Linked DNA regions of Homo sapiens: all the other regions are linked to region 3. Evidence: promoter capture Hi-C in 16 types of primary human blood cells and fetal thymus (Javierre and others, 2016). All regions are on one chromosome and are shown on one strand. The core of a region is centred on a gene start or on the middle of the fragment in contact, and the rest is flanking DNA. Distances in the headings are between cores, read along the strand shown. Region 1 holds the start of PARD6B (par-6 family cell polarity regulator beta). Region 2 overlaps PARD6B (par-6 family cell polarity regulator beta). Region 3 holds the start of CEBPB (CCAAT enhancer binding protein beta).

Region 1 (3,820 bases), core at 762-3,261, 540 kb before region 3:
GCTCAAGCAAGTCACTTCAATTTGCTATGCTGTGCACAGAGGACACATGGACATGCACATTCCTTAAATTGCTGTAACTACACGTCTTTTCTTACTAATTCTGAAACTAGTGCCAATCCTCATGTAAGTGCCAAGCCGTTTTTGTTTTTGTTTTGTTTTGTTTTTTGAGATGGAGTTTTGCTCTTGTTGCCCAGGCTGGAGTGCAATGGTGCAAACTTGGCTCACTGCAACCTCCACCTCCCGGATTCAAGCGATTCTCCTGCCTCAGCCTCTCAAGTAGCTGGGATTACAGGCATGTGCCACCACGGCCGGCTAAAAATTTTTTGTATTTTTAGTAGAGATGGGGTTTCATCATGTTGGCCAGGCTGGTCTGGCACTCCTGACCTCAGGTGATCCACCCGCCTCGGCCTCCCAAAGTGCTGGGGTTACAGGCGTGAGCCACCGCGCCCAGACTCAAATCACATTTTTTAATGATGTTACAAACGAATGTCGATTTTCTCGATGTGATTCTCAGTTACAGAAACTTACAGAACTTTGCTTATCAACCCTAGACAATAAAACTATTCTACCTAGAGGCTCTAGGAAGCTTTCCTTACTCCACTGTACCTCACTCAAATCACTCCTTGATTTTACATACTCCTTAGTAGTCTTACCATCTATGATGCTCCATTACTTTTTTTTTTTGAAATTGATATACTTTCAATTTTCTCCTTTTCTGTGTTTTGGCCTTCTCAATTCTATTTTAAATGTTCTCAGGGCCCAGCCAGTGTCCTGTTTTGTATTCTGCAATGTCTAGAAGTTATTAAAAAGGCATGAAGGCTTTGCAAAAAAACAGCTTGAGGAAGTCATAACCTTTCTAAGCCTCAGTCTTCTCAGAGAATTGGGCTAGATTATCTAAGCTCCTTTTAACTCTTCAACTCAAGAAACGCTTGCTGAAAGTGTTCCCTTGGCTGCCGATCACCTTCAAATTCCAGCTCAAAACCCCCTTTGGAAGGCATTCCCTAACTAATCCCTCCCTACAGACTACCCTGCTCACTGAGCCTTGAGATTTAGAAATTCAGTGAATACCGAAGTAATTATCAGCAGATTGGCATACCGTTGGTCAAGGGGAAAAGCACTTGATGTGAGTAGGTAGCAGGATGGAATGAAAAGAGCATCTAGAGTCAAACTGTAAAGTGCTACTCCAACGTAAGGTGATAGTACTAATTTTACAGATTAAATGCATACCAAAGTTAGTGCTAGAAAGAGCGCCAGCAGGAAGCAAAGCGAACTTTTAAAGGGCTGTTTAGTTCACTGGGCTCTCTCCTTCGCCACTCGATGCGCCCCTTAACCACAGAAAGTGGGAACAACGGGGTGGTCCAGGGCCCTTTACTCACAGCCCAGCAGGCAGGATTCTCCTACACCTTTTGAGCAGCCTCGCATTTCACTCAGTGTGCGCCATCCTTGGATATACCTTGGCCCCTACTCCCGTCCGTGAACACGGGAATGAGATTTACGGAATGAGATTAAATGCTGGACTAGGTCTTCTTCCTGCCCGGGCCAGGGGCGGACACTAGCGCCCCCTGACCCCCGCCACCCCCTCCTCGGCAAGTTTATTACCCACAGTCTCCCGACCGCACCGTCCAGACCCCGGGGCAGCTCAGCCCGTCGCCTCCCCCGGCGCTCCGAGCCTGGCCCGGCCTCTCCCAGGCCCCGGCCCCCCAGGCCCGCCGCTCCGCCCAGCCCGGGCCCCGCGCACCTTGCTCTTCACCTCCATAGTGCCCAGGCAGCCGCTGCCCGCCCCGTGCCGGTGGCTGCGGTTCATGCTGAACGCCGAGCCCCGCGACGGCCTCCTCCGGCCGGGCGGCCCCTCAGGAGCGCGGGGAGCGAGTGCGCGACTGGGGATCTCGGAAAGCGGTTGCGGCCCGGGCGCCTCCTCACAGGCACCTGCAGAGGGGGCGGCCGCAGCTCCGGCGTCCGCGCTGAGCTCCACTCCACCAGCTGCTCACACGGCGGGACCGAGGGTCGGACTGGTGGCGCGGCAGGCGGGGAAGCAGCTCCCTCCCTCCGGGCCCCGGCGGCGACGGCGACAGCGCTGGAGGAGAGGAGGGGGCGGAGCGGAGGCCACAAGCGCCGCAACCTCTCCCTCTGCCGCCTCCCCCGCGAGCCCGCGCGCGCGCACCCGAGCGGACCACAGCCGCGGCGCGTGCGCGCGCTCACCTGCAGCCCCCGAAGATGCCGCAATCCCTCGCGTTCCGCCCACACCCAATAGAAAGCGCGCACCTGCGCCCGCGGCGCCAACCAATCGATACACGCCTCGCGCGGTGCGTGGGCGGGCTGCCTCCTCAAAACCCCGCCTACCACCGCACGATTGGTCCTGCGCTACGAGGGAGGGGCGGGATCACCTGAAGCCATGGCCCTCCGCCCCGCTTCAGGCCGGAGAGCCAGAAGGCGCATGCGCGGGTGCTGGAGTTTCCGCCCCGGGAAGGCACGCGGGGAGGCCGGCCGGAAGCGCGAGCGCACCTGAAGAAGGGCTCGGCTGGGTGGGCCTTTTGCGCACGCGCGAGCGCGCGCCTGGTTGCCCGGCTCCGCCGGGGCTCGCGCCGCTTAGCGCGCGCCAGTCACACGCACGGTCCAGGGGATTGGATGCGCCGCCCGTCCGGTTGCCGAGGCGCTGCGGGGCTATTCGGTTCCAGCCGGGCCCCCTTCCCGCTTCCACTTTGGGATGCTGCAGCCCCCAACGACGCCCCTCCACCGCCCCTTATCGTTGCTTAGGCGTCCCGCTGCAACTCTTGGTTGCAAAATTCAAGTTTTCCCGCCTCTGCAGCGGTTGCTGGGGGAGAAGCTTAGGGCTCTCTTGGCTTCATTTTGTCCGAAGAGACTCTGCACGCCTTAAGTCCGTCAGGTCGAGAGGGAAGGAAAGTGGGCTGAGGCGCGGGAAGGCTCCTTGCAGGCCCAGCCTCCCTGAGGATTTCTAGTCCAGTCTTTCAGGGCTTTTTTTTTTTTTCTTTAAAAGTCTTCCTTTTCCCTCCTCCCGCCATTCCTTGGCCATTCGCTGTTTCTACAAATGACAGCCTCTAGGTTGTGTTCGTTTCCCGGAGTGACCAAGCTGTGTCCCAGAGCAACAAAACGCTGAATCCTCCTCTCTGAACGTCCCAGAGCCCGGCCTCTCTTCACACAGACCCTGTGGGTCATGGGGAGGAGAGGAGAAGACTGAAGCTTTTGGCTGGAGGAGATTCCCAGGTCCCAAGGTCTCCCTGTGGGACCCGGGAATCCAAGAGCTGTTGAAACCTGCAAGCCAGGAAGGGGGCAGGGGAATGGAGGTGGAGGGGAAGGTCCAACCTGAGATTTGGCAAGAAGAGTGGTTAGGGTACCTTCCTCCCCTCATCTCCCTGCCCACCTCGGAGGCCTCCTAACACTTGTACCCCTGTTGCCCAGCACTTGTTACAAGTTACAGGTTTCCCATTTTTGTGTGCATCTGAGTTTTGTGAGTAATCTGCCACCAGCCTAGAATGAAAGCTCCCGAAGGCGCAGGGACGGCTTGTGCTTTGCTGGCATTGAGTGGCACAGAACCCGACTCCCAGCGGGTACTCAGATGGGTCTTTGCTGGGTGCTGCCACTGAGGGTGTCCCTTCTGCAGGCTCTTTGCCCCACTTGGGTTCAAAGGCGAGAAGCTCATTTTTTTCCCTCTGGAGGATTCAGGTAACCAGACGTTTTGTGGGAGGATTTAAGGTTTTTCTGGCCACCTGTGGCAGCACAGGTGGAAAGGACACCAATCCAAGCTGTATAATAAATAAGCAAGCTGCCTCCACCCCCTGTTTGAAAGCACATAGGAGGTGAC
Region 2 (3,911 bases), core at 252-2,751, 560 kb before region 3:
AAAGGTATTCATACTAGCCCTACCATAAAGTTAATTAATAAATAACTCTCCATAAGCCATAGGGAACTTATGTACTTCATAGTATTTTTAGTTTCTATATACAAGCATACCATTGTGCTTGTGCACACTGTACAATAAAATCAGGCAAGGAATTAAAGTTAGCAGCCTTACTCTTAGCTTGTTCTAAGTGGATGCATTGGAAAGTAATAAATAGCCTCATAAAATTAATAGTGATAAACTCTACCTGTCACAGGTGAATACTATGTAGTTTTCATAAAGTGTAGGCAGTGTTTCTAGAAATCCCATGAAGGAAAACCCAATTTTTTTTTTTTTTGGCATAAAAAGTGCACAAGTTTGTCCTATGTGTTAAAACATCTTAATTTGGATGTATTTTTTATCCAAAATGATGCATACTTGGATGCATTAAAAGCACACCAACAAAAATACACACACTAACAATAAAAGGAATGATTTCAAATGAGACTGGGAATGGGAACAAGAATAGGTTAAAGGAGAGACTTCCATATTTCCAAAGTCAAGAGAATTGCCTTTTAAAACATAAATTATATAGCCATACAGAATTAATTTGAAAATATGAAAGCTATAGGAAGGACAAACACCAATTTGAACAACTGTTGCAAAGTTTCATAACTCAAGAAAAGATAGCTTCCTGGCTAGGCGCTCATGCCTGCAATCCAGCACTTTGGGAGGAGATGGGCGGATCACTTGAGGTCAGGAGTTTGAGACCCACCTGACCAACATGGTGAAACTCCATCTCTACTAAAAATACAAAAAAATAAGCCAGACGTGTTGGCGCACACCTGTAATCTTAGCTACTCAGAAGGCTGAGGCAGGAGAATTGCTTGAACCCGGGAGCTGAGATTGCACCACTGCACTCCAGCCTGGGTGACAGAGACTCTGTCTCAAAAAAAAAAAAAAAAAGCTTCCTCAGCTTTATAACATGGGAAGTAACTCCTAAAAACAGCCAAGTGGTTTGATTCTTAGAAACCAGAAATGCACAACTGGGCGCGGTGGCTCACGCCTGTAATCCCAGCACTTTGGGAGGCCGAGGCGGGCGGATCAGGAGGTCAGGAGATTGAGACCTTCCTGGCTAACACTGCGAAACCCCGTCTCTACTAAAAATTAGCCAGGCATGGTGGCAGGCGCCTGTAGTCCCAGCTACTTGGGAGGCTGAGGCAGGAGAATGGTGTGAACCCAGGAGGTAGAGCTTGCAGTGAGCCAAGATCGCGCCACTGCACTCCAGCCTGGGCGATAGAGCGAGACTCCATCTCAAAAAAAAAAAAAAAAAAAAAAAGAAAGAAAAGAAAAGAAACTGGAAATGTACTTGAGAACATCATTTGTTACAATTTATTAGAAAGGAACATAAAAAAACAAAAATCAAAATAGGCTGGGCATGGTGGCTCTAATCCTAGCATTTTGGGAAGCCGAGGCAGGACTGCTTAAGCCCAGGAGTTCAAGACCAACTTGGGCAACATGGCGAAACCCTGTCTCTACAAAAAATACAAAAAGTAGACAGATGTGGTGGTATGTGCCTATGGTCCCAGCTACTCAGGAGGCTGAGGTGGGAGGACTGCTTGAGCCCAGGGGATTGAGGCTGCAGAGAGCTGTGATCATGCCACTGCATTCCAGTGTGGGCAACAGAGTGAGACCCAGTCACTAAAAAAAAAAAAAAAAAAAAAAAAAAAAAAAATCAAAATAAAATATTGGGAACATGAGACCTTTAAGAGCTGAGGTCCCCAATGTACCACAAGAGAGAATCAGACTTCACATTAGAATTTTAAAAATACAGTTAAAGGAAAAATTAACTGGGCTCTGCACAGCAGGTTAAATATGCAACCACTTCCAACAGAAATGATCTAGTCTTCTCACATAGTTCCAAGAATGTGCTTTAACATCTGATTCTCCACAGACAAAACAGCAAAAGCACGTAACTTCATCAGCAAAGGCCCCTTTGTTTTGGACTTAAATTCACCTCTGATCCACCAAAGTTTATATTAACAATTATCAAACTACTACTTTAATAATATTGTAAGCTTGCAACGTTACTCGTCTCATGCCTATTCCACGTCACTGGTCAGAGGTATATATGCTTTTAAACTAGCCAAATGTACAAGTCCTCATGGCATCCTCACTCTGAAAACATTCAAACCACGGTTTCATAATGTTATGATTGTTCCATCTTCTTCTAAGAGTTTTTGATCTGGAGCATGTGTTTCAAATTCCGTGTTTGAGCTGCTTGCTATGGCTGCTAAGCTCACTTCATTAGAGGGAATAAAGCCATTCTGTCCAGACTCAAAGCTTAGCTCTATCTGTGTTAATGACTCCAGGCTCTCAGTATTAGGAACAGCTTTTGGAATCTGCTGTGGCACTCCATTGTCTTCAATGATAATGTCATCTTCTTCGCTGTCTTCATCCTCTGGCTCAAAGCTTGGTTCAATCTGCTGTGGGTAGCCAAGAAGGCTGTTATCAGTAGACTGACCGGAACTGCCAGAAGTCCGACTGTTCCTCACAACATTATTCCTCTGGTTTGCCGGTCTCACTGTTATGATGAGGTTACGGCTATTTGCAATCATCATGTCTGTTACTTGATCAAGGCTCTTCCCTGAAACTTCTATGCCATTAACTTCTAAAACTTCATCATTAACAGCTAATAGTCCTGTACTTTGAGCCAGACCTCCTGGGACAAGCCTGGATATAAAGATCCCTGGAACCTTTTCTAAGCCATGTGGTGTTACCCTGACACTGGAGCCATCCCGGATGTAGAATCCTAGGGGTTTCTCCGTGCCGTATTTGTAAAGACGTACCCTACGATGCGTTTCTGGGAGAATATCCACGTCTATAATAGAAGACACAGGTCTAAAGTCTTGGGGCATACTAATGACTATATGTGGCTTTTTTCTATGGTTGTCAGGACGCAATACGTTGGTTAAAACATTCTTCTTCTTTATTAGCGTGTCTGTACCAAAGGCACTGTAGTCTGCTTCTTCTGTTTAAAAATAAAACAAAATAATTATAGAAATGCTGTAAAAATATCTATTCACTTGCAGCTGAATCTGTACAGAAAGGATAACTCAAAATATATTTGGTATATAAACAAACTAGCTAATAAGCTTATTCTAATCAGATCATAATCTAGTACAGTAGTAAAATGCCATACCAGAAAAAACCACTAGGTGGCCATCTCAAATACACATCACAAAATAAACCAATGTTGAAGTTAAATTTGATAGAGCTCATTCACTTTTAAACATTAAATATGGCAAATGAAACTATGATAGATCTTACATATTTTTTTTTTTTTTGAGATGGAGTCTCGCTCTGTCGACCAGGCTGGAGTGCAGTGGCGTGACCTCGGCTCACTGCAACCTCCGCCTCCCGGGTTCAAGCAATTCTCCTGCCTCACCCTCCCGAGTAGCTGGGACTACAGGTGTGTGCCACCAGGCCTGGCTAACTTTTTGTATTTTTAGTACAGATGGGGTTTCACCGTGTTAGCCAGGATGGTCTCGATTTCCTGACCTCATGATCCACCCACCTCGGCCTCCCAAAGTGCTGGAATTATAGGCGTGAGCCACCGCACCTGGCCAGATCTTACATATTCTTAAACATCATTAAATATATATGTATTTTTACTTTTTTTTGAATAGGGTCTTGCTATGTTGCCCAGGCTGGTTTTGAACTCCTGGCCTCAGGAGATCCTCCCGCCTCAGCCTCTCAATGTGCTAGGAGTACAGGTGAGAGCTACTGTGTCCGGCCTTAAAACATCATTTTAAACCAGTTACTTAAAATACATTTTTCCTTCACTTGTTTAAAAAACTTGTAATGTGGTTGGGCGTGGTGCCTCACGTCTATAATCCCAGTGCTTTTTTGGGAGGCCATGGTGAGTGGATCAC
Region 3 (3,702 bases), core at 955-3,454:
AGCCTGACACTCGGGACCAGCCAGAGGCTCCGGAATCTCTTCTCAAGCAGGGTTCCCAGCCACCCGTCCCGGCGCCTAGGGGCTCTGAGTCAGCCTGAATGCCTGACCCATTACTCTTCTCCCCTTTCCCCCGGGGCTGGAACCCCATCTCAAGCAGACCCTGTGTGTGTGGGAGGGGGAGTAGCAGAGGAGGCAGAAAAACCAGCTGCAACACCCCCACCCAACCACCAAAACCTCCAAAAATAACAGCAGCCCCCCACACACAACCCCCTACACACCAGAAACGCAAAAACAAAATCCTACAAATCCAAAATAAAGTAAAAAAATAAAAAACAAAAGCCAATTACTGCCCCCAAAAGGCTTTGTAACCATTCTCAAAAAAAAGTTTATTAAAAGTGTTCTTAATGCTTGAAACGGAAAAGATTCCCAAAATATACAGACGCCTCTTTTCTCATAGAAATAGATTATTTTTTATAATACAAAAAAAGACCAAAAAACAAAACAAAACAAAACATCAACAGCAACAAGCCCGTAGGAACATCTTTAAGCGATTACTCAGGGCCCGGCTGACAGTTACACGTGGGTTGCGTCAGTCCCGTGTACACACGCGTTCAGCCATGTTTAAACCGATTGCATCAACTTCGAAACCGGCCCGCCCGCCGGCGCCTGGAGAGGGGCAGAGGGAGAAGCAGAGAGTTTATCATTCATCTGTACACATAGACGTTTCTTCTTTAAATAACACCACGGGCGGGAGCCCCATCTGCATGTGCGGTTGGTTTGGACAAAAATATAGATATATATATATAATAAAATATTAAAATTACCGACGGGCTCCCCGCGCTGCCAAGTGCCCCAGTGCCAAAGTTTTGCCGGCGCCGCCGGGGGCGGGGGCGAGGGCGCGGGCGCGGGCGCTCCCCGGAGTCTCAGCCCCGGCCGGCAGGGGGACGCGCGCGGGGGCCGCGCTAGCAGTGGCCGGAGGAGGCGAGCAGGGGCTCGGGCAGCTGCTTGAACAAGTTCCGCAGGGTGCTGAGCTCGCGCGACAGCTGCTCCACCTTCTTCTGCAGCCGCTCGTTCTCGGCCGTGAGCTCCAGGACCTTGTGCTGCGTCTCCAGGTTGCGCATCTTGGCCTTGTCGCGGCTCTTGCGCACGGCGATGTTGTTGCGCTCGCGCCGGATCTTGTACTCGTCGCTGTGCTTGTCCACGGTCTTCTTGGCCTTGCTCTTGACCTGCGAGGGCGCCGGCGCGGCCCCCGCGTAGCAGGCGGTCGGGGGCGCCTTGGCGTCAGCGGGGCTCGGCGTGCCGGGCGGGCTGGACGAGGAGGACGTGGAGAGGCTCCCGCTGCTGCCGCTCGGCACCGCCTGGTAGCCGAGGTAAGCGCGCAGCGCGTACGGGAAGCCCGCCGCCATGCCTGCGCCGCCGCCCGGCGCCCCGGCCTCCTCCTTCCGCTTGCAGTCCGCGGGCTCGAAGCCCGGCTCCGCCTTGAGCTCGGCGGGCGGCGGCGGCGGCGGGGGCGGTGGGTGCAGGGGCGCGAAGCAGCCGGGGTGCAGCGCGCCCTTGGCGGCCCCCAGGCGCCCCAGGCTCACGTAGCCGTACTCGGCCGGCTTCTTGCAGTTCTTGCCCCCGTAGTCGTCGGAGAAGAGGTCGGAGAGGAAGTCGTGGTGCTGCCCGGAGGAGGCGGGCGCGGGGGCGGGCGCGGGCGGAGCCGCCTCGAAGGTGTCCGTGGCCGTGGCGGGCGCCGGGGCCTGCGGCGCGCCCAGCGGCTCCAGGTACGGGCTGAAGTCGATGGCGCGCTCGTGGTCGCCGATGCTGCCCAGCTCGCCGGCGGGGGGGCGCGGCCCGGGTCTGGCCGCGGGGGGCGCCGCGGGGGCCGCCTTGCCGCCGTACGCAGCAGCCAAGCAGTCCGCCTCGTAGTAGAAGTTGGCCACTTCCATGGATTTAAAGGCAGGCGGCGGCGGCGGCAGGGGGAGACATGCTGGGTCCCAGGCCACCAGGCGTTGCATGAACGCGGGTGCCCGGGGAGGGGGCCTGGGGCTGCCCGCTCCGGCCGGCCCGCAGGTGGCGCGGCCTCCCTGCTCTGAGCTGTCGCCGCTGCGTCGCTGCTGCTGCTGCCGCCGCTGCCGGGGTGGCCGCTATTAGTGAGGGGGCTGGTGGCTGGACCCTCGGGTGGGTCCCCTTCCCAGTCCCGTGCGCGGCTCTGACTCGCTAAAGTTTCTCCTGAGCCCGGTTATTTATAAGGGCGGCCCGTAGCAACCGCTGCGTCACGCCGGCCCCTCCCGCCGCGCCGCCGGGACGCGAAGGACACGGCCGCGGCCGCCCGAGACCCCCGGGAGGACGGCGGCAGGGCGCAGCGGAGGGACCGGGCACCCGGAGCGCGTTTTCGGGGGGCCCCCGGGACGCAGGGGCGGCCTCACGCCCCCTGCCCACCCCCGCCCGGCCGCCCCGGGATTGGGAGCGAGAGGGGGCGGTGCGACCCCGCCCCCGGACCGCCCCTCTGGGCTGGAGGCTGTCCTGGAAGGCGGGGGAATCGGAGGAGGGGGCGACCTGATCGCCTTCCCCCCGAGACGCGGCCCCGGCCCGCCCCCTGCTGGAGGAGGCGGAGGTTTCAGGAGGGCCGAGCAGAGCCCCGACGGCCGACCAGGGTCGGCTCCCCGGGCCGAACCCTGGAGACCCCAGCCCGCAGCTCTAGCTCCAGGAGAAGCGACCCATCTCCGTGGCCCTTCCTCCCGTAAACTCCCACCTCCTCCCCAGGTCCCCGGCTTTAGAAAGAAGACTTGACGCCTGTGACGACTCCCCTCTTAAGCCACAGACAATATGAGGACCCCGGGGGTCGGCGCGACCGGGCAGGATCGCGCCCCGCTTGGGGCTGGACCCTGGTCCACGGAGCCCCGCCCCTAGCCCCGCCCACCACACCTGCCGCCTGCTCGAGGCTTGGACACGCCCGGGTCTTCTCTTGCCCCGCGCTGCGCCACCCGACCTGGGCCCTGGGATGGGGCAGGGGCGGGGGGTGCTCGGCCCTGCCACACTGTGTGACCTTGGGTGAGTCACTTCACTTCTCCCAGCTGCAATCCATGAAGGGTGTCGCTACTGTCAGTGGTGGTGGCATTGTTCCCACCAGACTCCCAAACCTAAGGCTTACGTTGTGGGCTGCACATCAGAGAGAACGGGACCCCCACGGATTGTGCCAGTGGAGGCCCAGAGAGAGCATGGCGTGGCATACCAAGGTCACATGGCCGCATGTCCCCCATTCATCCCAAATGAAATGCCCTCATCTGAGCCCTAAGACCTATTGCCAGTCCCAGAGGCCAAAAACTTCTGTTTCTGAAGTTGCTAGGGAGGGACTTAAGCGAGGCCTCACGGGAGGGGGTGGTATGCAGGAAAGAGAAGGAAAGAGAAAGATAAGTTTTTACCAAGTCCCTGCCCTGTGCTTACGGTGGGCCTGCACCCCGAGGTTCAACTTTTTTCACCCCACCAGGAAGATGCTTTTGCTGCTGCCATTTCACAGACGGGAAAGCGACAACGGCCCGCCTGGACTTGAACACAGGCCCAAGGCCTTCTGACCACTTGCCCGCCTCTGCTGGGTAGGCTCAGGTTAGAGGGCCCTTTGCCCTCCCGGACCCATTCCTAGGCCATTGGGGCAGCTCCCTGGGCCCACCTCTCTGCCACTCCTAGCCCAGGCCACCTAGGCAGGAGCTCCCAGCCTGC

The links. Contacts are between HindIII fragments. The CHiCAGO score rates a contact against its expected background, and 5 or more counts as called.
Region 1: a contact is called between the fragment with the promoter of PARD6B here and the fragment with the promoter of CEBPB in region 3, in 11 of 17 cell types (total B cells, non-activated CD4 T cells, activated CD4 T cells and 8 more). The highest score is 21.9, in total B cells.
Region 2: a contact is called between a fragment that was not itself captured here and the fragment with the promoter of CEBPB in region 3, in 1 of 17 cell types (total B cells). The highest score is 5.7, in total B cells.

The regions. Positions count from the first base shown.
Region 1 is chr20:50,729,771-50,733,590 of GRCh38, reverse strand. PARD6B (par-6 family cell polarity regulator beta) reads right to left here and starts at 2,011. Exons shown (of 3, transcript NM_032521.3): 1 at 1,739-2,011. The coding sequence starts at 1,804. RefSeq lists silencers at 1,569-2,358, 2,459-2,668 and an enhancer at 2,859-2,908. The HindIII fragment of the contact is 2,238 bases long and covers 589-2,826 here.
Region 2 is chr20:50,748,755-50,752,665 of GRCh38, reverse strand. PARD6B (par-6 family cell polarity regulator beta) reads right to left here. Exons shown (of 3, transcript NM_032521.3): 3 at 1-3,007. The coding sequence ends at 2,178. Among named protein-coding and RNA genes, the nearest start is that of PARD6B, 19 kb to the right of the region's middle. The HindIII fragment of the contact is 1,111 bases long and covers 946-2,056 here.
Region 3 is chr20:50,189,332-50,193,033 of GRCh38, reverse strand. CEBPB (CCAAT enhancer binding protein beta) reads right to left here and starts at 2,204. Exons shown (of 1, transcript NM_005194.4): 1 at 366-2,204. The coding sequence starts at 2,000. The coding sequence ends at 963. It overlaps CEBPB-AS1 (CEBPB antisense RNA 1), which reads left to right and starts at 965. Exons shown (of 7, transcript NR_125739.1): 1 at 965-1,370; 2 at 1,612-1,766; 3 at 2,749-3,036; 4 at 3,473-3,578. RefSeq lists silencers at 862-971, 1,392-1,831, 1,972-2,181, 2,008-2,302, 2,262-2,671. The HindIII fragment of the contact is 16,423 bases long and covers 1-3,702 here.